Regions from separate parts of the Homo sapiens genome. Here regions 2 and 3 are each linked to region 1. The links are contacts of gene promoters, found by promoter capture Hi-C in blood cells and fetal thymus (Javierre and others, 2016). All regions are on one chromosome and are shown on one strand. Each heading gives the region's core, a stretch centred on a gene start or on the middle of the fragment in contact. The rest is flanking DNA. Distances are from core to core; before and after follow the strand shown.

Region 1 (3,278 bases), core at 1-2,500:
TTAAGGGCTGCAGACTCTTCAGATCCAGTTAAATCCCTGGTGTTTGAGCTGTGTGGGAGCTGTGGTTGCTTGCTTCCTGGCTTTGCCTGAGGTCCTGCCGCAAACCCTGCAGCAGCTGGTTTAGGAGTGTAAGGTGGCTGTCTCTGCGAGGCAGAGGCAGGGGTGGGAGGCAATTCCCTTTATACTCGATCACTGCCATCTTGGCCCGATCCAAACTCCGATTTGGGATCTGCAGCATTCTTGTGTAGCCCCCAGTTTGATCTTTGTACCGAGGGGCCAGTACTTGAAACAGCTTTGGGATCAAATCCTTCTCCTAGAGGGAGAATTATCCAAGAGACAGCAGAGTCAGGCAAAACTGCAGAGGCATTTAACTTTACACCATTCCCAAAGGTAAGGTCCATCCACACATAGAAAGACCTCCCCCTCCCCTCGCCAATCTGGCATAGTCAGTGTTACACAAAGGGGTCGTTTATAGGCAGTTGTGCAGAGGTATATTCACATCGACTTCAACTAACTTAAGACACAGTTTCTAATTTAGTTAGCAGCACTGGCCCATAAGTGAGTACCCAAGTTTAATTCTGCATAGTTCTCCTTTTTCCAACCCCCACCCCCAGGGAGCAAAGGGTGGGATTTTGAAGGCAGATAGGTCGCACTCACTGTGAGCCAGAAGTCAGCCATGCGCATGGCTCGTTCGTTAGTGTCTCCCAGCTTCCCATAGTCGATGAGCTGTGAGGACATAACATCACGGATCCAACCGAGCAAGAAAACAAGGTGCCAATCTAATTTCTCTAATGCCGGAAGGCAATCCATTCTTTCCACTAGCCAAGCATCTCCAATCTACGCCACCCCTAACTCCGCAGCCCTAACCAGTCTTCCATTAGAGGCGATGGAGGGGCGGGTTCAGCCCAAGGTTCTGGGGGACTCAGACTTGGGGAATGGTTTACCAGGTTGGTCCCGGTCCCTTTCCACTTGCAGCCGGCTCCGCCCCCTCAGACCAGACCCGCAGAGTGGACAAGAGGGCCGCGCTCCTCACCTTCTCCGCGTAGCCCCTCATTTCGTCCACACGCGCCCATGGTGCCTCGATGCGTTCGTGCCGCACCAGCCCTGTGAGCAAGTTCCGCAACAGATGGATGCGGGACTCGGGACCGAGGCCCATACGGCGAAATACGCGGCCATGGGAGATCGCTGCAGCGACCGACAGCCGCATGTTTCCAACTTCTGCCCGCCCCTTGGAGGCCGGAACTGGAAACTGGAAGGTAGAGCCGGTGGCGGCAATTTCAGGGAACGCATGCGCCTTAGCTCGGAGCGTGGTGAACGTGTTTGCGCATGCGCATCAGAGCCTGCCTCGTTGGCAATCTCGGGAAGGGCGGAGAAACGGTGTTGAGCTTTTCCAGAGGCGGCGAGCTGGGCGGGCTTCAGGCATCCAGAGCGCTCTGTGGCGGCCGAAGAACCAGGCGCCCCCTAGTGTGGGATAAGCGGGCCATCGGGTTTTTTTTGGGGCTGCGTCAGCCAGTGGCATTTAGGGCGATGGGGCGCTCCGCCGCGGAGACTCCTGGGAAAGAGAGCGTCTGAAGAGAAAGGCACCCGGAGGGTTCGGGGTCCTGCGGGCTGACGGCCCTACCGGGTCCAGCAGTGGCCAGCTGGCCTGGTTGACACCTGTACGCATTGTTTTTAACACAGTGATTTTCAGTAGTAATGGTGAGATGGATAATAACGATGCCCGGAAAAGAAACGCAGATAGTGAAATTTTTCTTTTATTGAAGTAATCACTCCAGTTAAAAAAATTACAGCACTAAAGGGAAAAGTAGTAGATTGTTTTTAATTACACCAGTGTGTCTTTTTAAGGGGAAAAAACATACCTACACATTTATGTGTTAATGAACAATAATATTATAGTTTGTTTTTGAGCCTTAACATCTGCAAATTGGCAATGACTGTCAAAATTATTCCTTGTTATGGGTTGAATTGTGTCTTCCCCATGATTCTTCCCGTCCCCAAAAAGCTATGTTAAGTCCTAACCTGCAGTAACTCAGAATGTGACCTTATGTGGAAATAGGGTCATTGCAGATGTCATTTGTTAAGATGAAGTCATGCAGGCATAGGTGGGCGCCTAATCCAAAATGCCTAGTGTCTAGCTAGCTAGATAGATAGACACATATATACGTACATACATATATGCAGGCCGGGCACGGTGGCTCACTCCTGTAATTCCAGCACTTTGGGAGGCCGAGGCGGGCGGATCACCTGAGGTCAGGAATTCGAGACCAGCCTGGCCAACATGGCGAAACCCCGTCTCTACTAAAAACACAAAAATTAGCCGGGCGTGGTGGCTCATGCCTGTAATTCTAGCTACTCGGGAGGCTGAGGCAGGAGAATAGCTTGAACCCGGGAGGTGGAGGTTGCAGTGAGCTGAGATCGGGCACTGCACTCTAGACTGGGCGACAGAGTGAGGCTCTATCTCAAAAAAAAAAAAAAAAAAAATGCGCATGAAGAGAGAGAGATGGACACAGGGTGATGCTGACCAGGTAAAGACAGAGACATACAGGCAGAAAGCCATGTGACCTTGAAAGCAGAGATTATGGAGTCAAGCAGTTGCAAATCAATGAATGAACACCAAGGATTGCTGGAGCACACCTGAAGCCAAGGGAAAGGTATAAAACGCATTCTTTTTCAGATCTGTCAGAGAGCATGACCCTGCTGCTAACACATCGCTTTCTTACTTCTAGCCTCCAGAGCCACAAAACAATAAATTTCTGTTGTTTTAAGTTCCACAGTTTGTGATAGTTTGTTACAGCAGTCTTAGGAAATGAATTCACTCCTCTTTACATGTACATATTCAGTAGACGTATAGATTTGTCACTTTGTCAGCTTATAGGTGACCAAAGAACACTTCTTTGCTAATTTTAATTTTGAAAAGTTTCTTTAATATGAAGGAACAAATATGCAAATAGGAAAAGTCATGAACATATAAATACATTGACAGATTTATACAAATCACACTTCACAATTAAAGAAATTTACAATAAATTACAGAAATTACAATTACCATTCATGTTTTGTTTCTTTGGGAGCAATTCTTGTAGTTTTCAATTGTCTTTGCAGTTGAAAAATTTCACTAAGATGTTTTCACCAGGATATATATATATTTTTTTGAGACGGAGTTTCTTTCTTGTTGCCCAGGCTGGAGTGCAATGGTGCGGTCTCGGCTCACTGCAACCTCCACCTCCTGGGTTCAAGCGATTCTCATGCCTCAGCCTCACAAGTAACTGGGATTACAG
Region 2 (3,418 bases), core at 435-2,934, 260 kb before region 1:
AAGGATTCCCGGGAGGCACTCTGCGCCGCTCCTGCTGCACCGCTCCCTGACGTCCTGGTGGGGAGGCTCTGAGGACACAGCGTTGCTCATAATAATAGCTCGTATTTATTGACCACTTACACCGTGCCGGGCTCTCTATTAAACCGTTAACGCGCATTAATCTTCACATCAGCTCTGTAAAATCACCAGAATTATTATCCTCATTTTTCAGAGGCTGAGGCTAAGATTAAGAGAGGTAAAGCGACTTGCCCGCAGTCACAGTTAGTGATGAATTTAGACTGGAACTCCGATGTTTCTTGACACTGAAATACCTCTGCTGCTGAGCATAAAGCTGACATCAAGGCCTGGAAAATGTCAAGAATACATTGCTCCCCGGTAGAAATTCACAAGGAAGGGGATATTGTGAATGAAAAGTGTAAAGATGTAAGGAAGATGGTGGGGTGCAATACTTACTACAGACCCTCCCTGGATAGTGGGATACATCCCAATGGTCAGATCAGTGACCCAGAGGCCATCAAGGATAATGAGAGGTTATATTACCATCCAGAAAGCCTCTACATGCTAATCCCTCTCAGGTGCCTAAAACTAAAGATATCCAAATCTGAGTTCGTTCTTTCTTTCAAGGCAGGGTCTCACTCTGTCACCCAGGGGCAAGATCATGGCTCTCTGAAGCCTCAGCCTCCAGGGCTCAGATTCCTCCCGCCTCAGCCCCCGGAGTACCTGGGCCACAGACATGTGCCACCGCGCCTGGCTTTTTGTATTTTAGTAGAGAGGGGGTCTCACTGTGTTCCCCAGGCTGGTCTGGAACTCCTGTGTTCAAGCGATCCTCCCACCTCGGCCTCCCAAAGTGCTGAGATTACAGGCGTCAGACACAGTGTCCAGCCTCAATTTATTGTTTCATCCCCCTTTATTAGTCTTTTAAGGAGTTTCACTGGGGTGAAAAAGAACCCTCTTCAACACACACAACACAACACACATCCCACACTGGACACAACTCCATTCCATCCATTCCAATGAATGACACCAACTACTGGCTTCCCAAGCCAGAAGCTTCAAAGTCATCTTTGAATATACTTTTATTTTACTTGTGGTAAATATAAATGTTTTAACTTTTTATTATGGCAAATTTCCAATATATACTAAAGCAGACAGAACAATATAATGAACCCTCATATACCTATCATTCAGTTTCAACAATTATGAATTCACAACCAATAGTTTATAATGATTTGACAAATGCCTATGATATATGAACCATGTATCAGGTCCCAAGCCAGGCCCTAGGGATCTAAAGACGAATCAGATTTGACTGCATCTCACCTGGAGGAAATGACATCTGACCTGGGTTCTTGAAAGATGAAGAAGAATTACCCAGAAGAACAAAAGTGTCCTCATTCATTCATTCATTCATTTTCTTTCATCAAATAATTACTATGTATGAGGTACTGTCCTTGGTGCTAGCAACAGGTCAAGAAACAAGATACAGTTCCGTCTCTCATACAGCTTGAAATTTAACAGGGGAAAGAGACATTAAATATGTAATTAGGAATGTGATGAGTGTCTTGAAGGAGATGTACCGGGAGCTATGTGAGTGGGCTTAATTTGGCCTGGGAAGTTTAGGAGGCTTTCATAGGAAGTGACAATTCAGTGAGGGAAAGGGATGAAGGAGCTAGAGGTCAGCCAGGAGAAGAGAAAAGTATTCCAAGTAGCAGGAGAAATACAGGAAGGTCAGTATGGGTGTTGATATAGTTTGGATATTTGTCCCTGATCAAATCTCATGTTGAATTGTAATCCCCAATGCTGGAGGTGGGGTCTGGTGGGAGGTGTTCAGGTCGTAGGGGTGGATCTCTCATGGCTTGGTGCTGTCTTCCCCATGATGAGTGAGTTCTTGTGAGATCCGGTTATTTAAAAGTGTGTGGCATGGCCAGGCGTGGTGGCTCAGGCCTGTAATCCCAGCACTTTGGGAGGCCAAGGTGGGCAGATCAACTTGAGACCAGGAGTTCGAGAACAGCCTGGTCCACATGGTGAAATCCCATCTCTATTAAAAACACAAAAAAATTAGCTGGGCATGGTGGCGGGCACCTGTAGTCCCAGCTACTTGGAAGGCTGAGGCAGGAGAATTACTTGAACCCAGGAGGCGGAGGCTGCAGTGAACCGAGATCACGCCACTGCACTCCAGCCTGGGCAGCAGAGTGAAACTCCATCTCAAATAAATAAATAAATAAATAAATAGTGTATGGCACCTCTCCCCCCACACTCTCTTGCTTCTGATCAGCCATGTGGGATGCCTGCTCCCACTTTGCTTTCTGCCATGAGTAAAAGCTTCCTGAGGACCCCCTGGAAGCCAAGCAGATGCTGGTGCTATGTTTCCTGTATAGCCTGCAGAACTGTGAGCCGATTAAACCTCTTTTCTTTTCTTTTTTTTTTTTTTTTTTTGAGACAGAGTCTCGCTCTGTCCCCCAGGCTGGAGTGCAGTGGCGCAATCTCGGCTCACTGCAATCTCCGCCTCCCGGGTTCACACCATTCTCCTGCCTCAGCCTCCCAAGTAGCTGGGACTACAGGCACCCACTGCCATGCCCAGCTAATTTTTTGTGTTTTTAGTAGAGATGGGGTTTCACCGTGTTAGCCAGGATGGTCTCAATCTCCTGACCTCGTGATCCGCCCGCCTTGGCCTCCCAAAGTGCTGGGATAACAGGCATAAGCCACCACACCTGGCCCTAAACCTCTTTTCTTTATAAATTACCCAGTCTCAAGTATTTACTTACAGCAACACAAGAACAGCCTAACAGTTGTGATAGTGGAGAATGGCATAAGATGAAATAGGAAGGTGGGAAAGTGCCAGATCAAGGAGGGCCTTATATGCTGAGCTAAGGGTTTGACCTTTATTTTAAGGGCAATGGAAAATCATGGAAGGGTTTGAAGCAGGAGAGGGGCATGTTCACACTCGCATTTTAGAAGATCGCTTTCAGCTCCTGAGGAAGAATAGATAGGTGGAAAGCAAAATTGGAAGAATATAGACCAGTTAGGAAGCAAGAGACCAGGTTAAAGATGATGATGGCTTGGACTCTGGTGGTGGGACTAGGGATGGAGAAAATTGCATAGGTTTAATAAATATTCAAGAGGTAGAATTCCCAGAAATCAGTGATCAGTTGGTTGATTAGCTATGGAATTGTAGATTTAAAAAATGACATCTAGATTTATTTTTGAGAAAATGAAAAAAAAAATCCAGAAGTATCACCCATTTACAGATAGCCCACCAAAATATTTGTCTTCCCAATCTCATTGAGCAGGAAGGCTGCAGTATTCAGGGAAATCTCTTCAGGTAAGAAGGACATAGATTGCATGATGAGGTTGAAGGGAGGACTCTAATTAGCTAGGGATGCCCATGTGCAGTTCACATGGGCATCTTTTTCCTTAT
Region 3 (3,109 bases), core at 100-2,599, 450 kb before region 1:
TAAGGAATTTATGAGAACTCTGTATTATTTTTGCAACTTTTCTGTAAGCCTAAAATTAGTTCAAATAAAAAGTATTTAAAAAGAAATAGAAGTTTCAGACCAAAGGATCAGCATATACCAGGGAAAGGAAGAATGGACAGCATGTGGGAGGTGCTGTAAGAACTGCAATCAGTACAGTGTGTCGGGAGCCTAGGGAACATGTGAGGAAACATTGTGAGATGAGGCTGAAGACATGGACTGGAGAACTTTATAAACCATGTTAAGGAATTTAGATTTTATTTTTGGGATGATAGCTATAAAGAATTTTATACATAGATTGATAGTTATACAGTAACTTTGCAAAAGACCAAACAAGCTGATAAGGCCCAAACTAGAGTAGCAAAAATGCAGAGAAGTGGACATGTGGATTTTTAGAAGGTAGATCACCATGGTTTGATGATTGGGTGGATATAAGAGGAAAATAAGAGGAAGAATTAAAAACTAATGCTTAGTTTATATAAATTCAAAAACAGGTAAAACTAAACTGTGATATTAGAATTCAGGATAGTGATTATTCTTGGAAAAACATTGACTGAAAGGGGCAGAGTGGGGCTCCTGAGGCACTGGTGATGTTCTGTTTCTTGATCTGAGTGCTTGGTTATATGGGTGTGTTCACTTTGTGAAAATGTATTAAGCTATATACTTAAGGATTGTACACCTTTCTCTGTGTTTGTTTGTTCTGGTTACTATGCTATGTGACAAACCAACCCAAACTTAGTGTCATAAAAACAATAGCCATTTTATTATGTGCACAAATTCTGGGAATTTGGACGAGATGCAACAGGAATGGCTTGTCTCTATTCCATGATGTCTGGGGCCTTATTTGTAAAGCTTGAACATCTAGAGGTGGTTTGAGGCTGGTGGCTGGAAGCATCTGGAGGCTTCTTCAGTCACACATCTAATTCCTGGGCTGGGATAATGAAAAAGCTGAACTCATTGGGCAAACTGTCAAACAGAACTTCTCACAATGTGATGGGTAGGTTCCAAGAGGGAACATTCTGAGAGGGAGCTACCAGACAACACGCATTCCAAGAGAACCAGAGGGAAGCTGCATGGCCTTTTATGATCTAGCCTTAGAAGTCACACAACATCACTCCTGCTATACAAACTATCACAAGGGAGTGGTGTCGAAGAATTTGTGACCATTTTTTTTAACTGCCACAACATTATACAGTAAATAGTAATAAATGCTTGTCATAGGTTTTTTTGCTGAAAGGGCATAGATAGGAATTCTAGAAGAAAAAGTGGAGGAAGATAATGAGCTTAGTTATAGACCCAATGGGTTGAAGGTGACCGCGGGATACCCAAGTAGGAACATCCAGTGAGCAGTTAGTCATATAGATAACTGAAACTCAGGGAGAGTTCTCGGGAGCCACTATATGAGAAAGGAAGTCCTGTGGGTGACTGACGTCAATCAGACAGAGTTAGGAGGATGGCAAAAGTAGAAAGCCTAGAACAGAATCCAAGAAAAAAAAAAAACACCATCATAGAAGGAATAGACAGAGGAGCTTATGAAAGACACTAAAAAGAAACAGCAAACCAAGACATTATGGCATTACAAAGGATTTTATTCATTTTGTTGCATTACTTTGAATGTTGTCTTTTTATTTTAACAAGCGTAATACTTTGCAAAAAGAAATTAAGAAGCCATGGGAAAAGAGAGTTTTTCAAAATTTAATTAGGGACCACAGGTTTTTCTTCTAAAACACACTCCAAAAACACAAACCTGATTTTATCACTGAACTGTGAAAAACTCTTCACAGGTTCTCTATTGCCGTTGGGTAAAATCCAAGCTTTATAACATGGCTGACAGAACTCCTCCTGAGCTGGCCTCTGTCTATCATTCAACCTCATCTCTCACCACTACCCGCTAGGCCCTCTAAAATAAGCCAATTGATATTTGCCCAGTCACCCACGCTTTTTGATATCTCTATGCCTTTGCCCACTCTGTGCATTCTGCCTCTAGTGCTCTTCACCCTCCCATCTCTGTACCCAACTCCTATTCATCCTGCAGAACCCAGGCTCTGTAGGGCCACTTCATGTGTACTATAATAGCCTTCCGTGTATCCAGCTAACAGAGTACTCATCAGCAGCCTGGCAATGACTGCTGCTGTTTAGTTACCTCATGTGTAATTACCTGCTGGCCTGACTATTTCACCTAGCAGACTGTGAGCTTCTGGAGAAGGGGGAGCGTGTCTTATTCATCTCCAATTCCTAGTATTTAGCACAATATTGGCCTGGCACACAGAACACCTGCCTATGGGTGTTCTGATTTTGATTTGTTGACTGAGAAAGATGATAGCAGTGAAAGGAACATCAGGTTGAGGGAGAAATTGTAGGGTTTTTGTTTGTTTTGATATAGGAGATATTGAAGCAGGTTCACAAAAAGAGAAAAGTTGAAAGATTGGGGACCATAAAACACATGGAATGGTTGGTAGGATCAGGCACTAGAAGTCACAAGAAGGATATGAGGACAAAAGCACCATAGGATGGCCCCTATCACACTACCTATGAGAATGGTGTGATGGGGGAAGGCGTATGTGGAGGTAGATAAGGGTAGGAAGTAGGTTACAAAAATAGAGCTCACTTCTCATGTGAGAGGCATCTCTTTGTCCCTGGAGAATAGTTTAGCACCTGACATAGATAAGCCATTCAGTAATAGTTGTTAAATAAATAAATAGTGAGGCCCAAATAGAATTTGCAAAGATAAAACAGAGTGTTTGATCCTACACTAAAACTGAGGTCTTCTGACCCAGAGGACACCTATGTAGCTCAGTTGCTGTGGAAAGAGGGGAGGAGGAAAACAGAGACAAGACTCAGGCTTCCCTCTGAGGCATGCACCCCCACCTTCTCCAGGGATCTCATTAGAGGTGTTTAGCTGGGCAGGTGTAAGCCCAGGCCCTGGGAGACAGGGCAGAGTGCTAGAGCTAGACTGTCTCCACCCCTTCAGTAGCGCTAGCTCTGGTTGTGTTGCTAAGAGCCCCAAAGACAAAGAAGTCACAGCAGAAGCCCAACAGCAGCCTCCTTCAGGCAGTCAGGCACTAGTGCCCAACTCCAGAAGTCCCCTACA

What was found. Contacts are between HindIII fragments. The CHiCAGO score rates a contact against its expected background, and 5 or more counts as called.
Region 2: a fragment that was not itself captured here is called in contact with the fragment with the promoter of MRPL17 in region 1 in 2 of 17 cell types (non-activated CD4 T cells and naive CD8 T cells); the score reaches 7.4 in non-activated CD4 T cells.
Region 3: a fragment that was not itself captured here is called in contact with the fragment with the promoter of MRPL17 in region 1 in 1 of 17 cell types (naive CD4 T cells); the score reaches 5.6 in naive CD4 T cells.

The regions. Positions count from the first base shown.
Region 1 is chr11:6,682,090-6,685,367 of GRCh38, forward strand. MRPL17 (mitochondrial ribosomal protein L17) reads right to left here and starts at 1,251. Exons shown (of 3, transcript NM_022061.4): 1 at 1,034-1,251; 2 at 658-726; 3 at 1-313. The coding sequence starts at 1,207. The coding sequence ends at 29. RefSeq lists enhancers at 793-1,555, 972-1,411. The HindIII fragment of the contact is 17,410 bases long and covers 1-3,278 here.
Region 2 is chr11:6,419,451-6,422,868 of GRCh38, forward strand. It overlaps a transcript of APBB1 not described here. Among named protein-coding and RNA genes, the nearest start is that of APBB1, 2.1 kb to the left of the region's middle. RefSeq lists a silencer at 1-11. The HindIII fragment of the contact is 1,272 bases long and covers 1,049-2,320 here.
Region 3 is chr11:6,236,049-6,239,157 of GRCh38, forward strand. It overlaps CNGA4 (cyclic nucleotide gated channel subunit alpha 4), which reads left to right and starts at 3,041. Exons shown (of 6, transcript NM_001037329.4): 1 at 3,041-3,109. The HindIII fragment of the contact is 962 bases long and covers 869-1,830 here.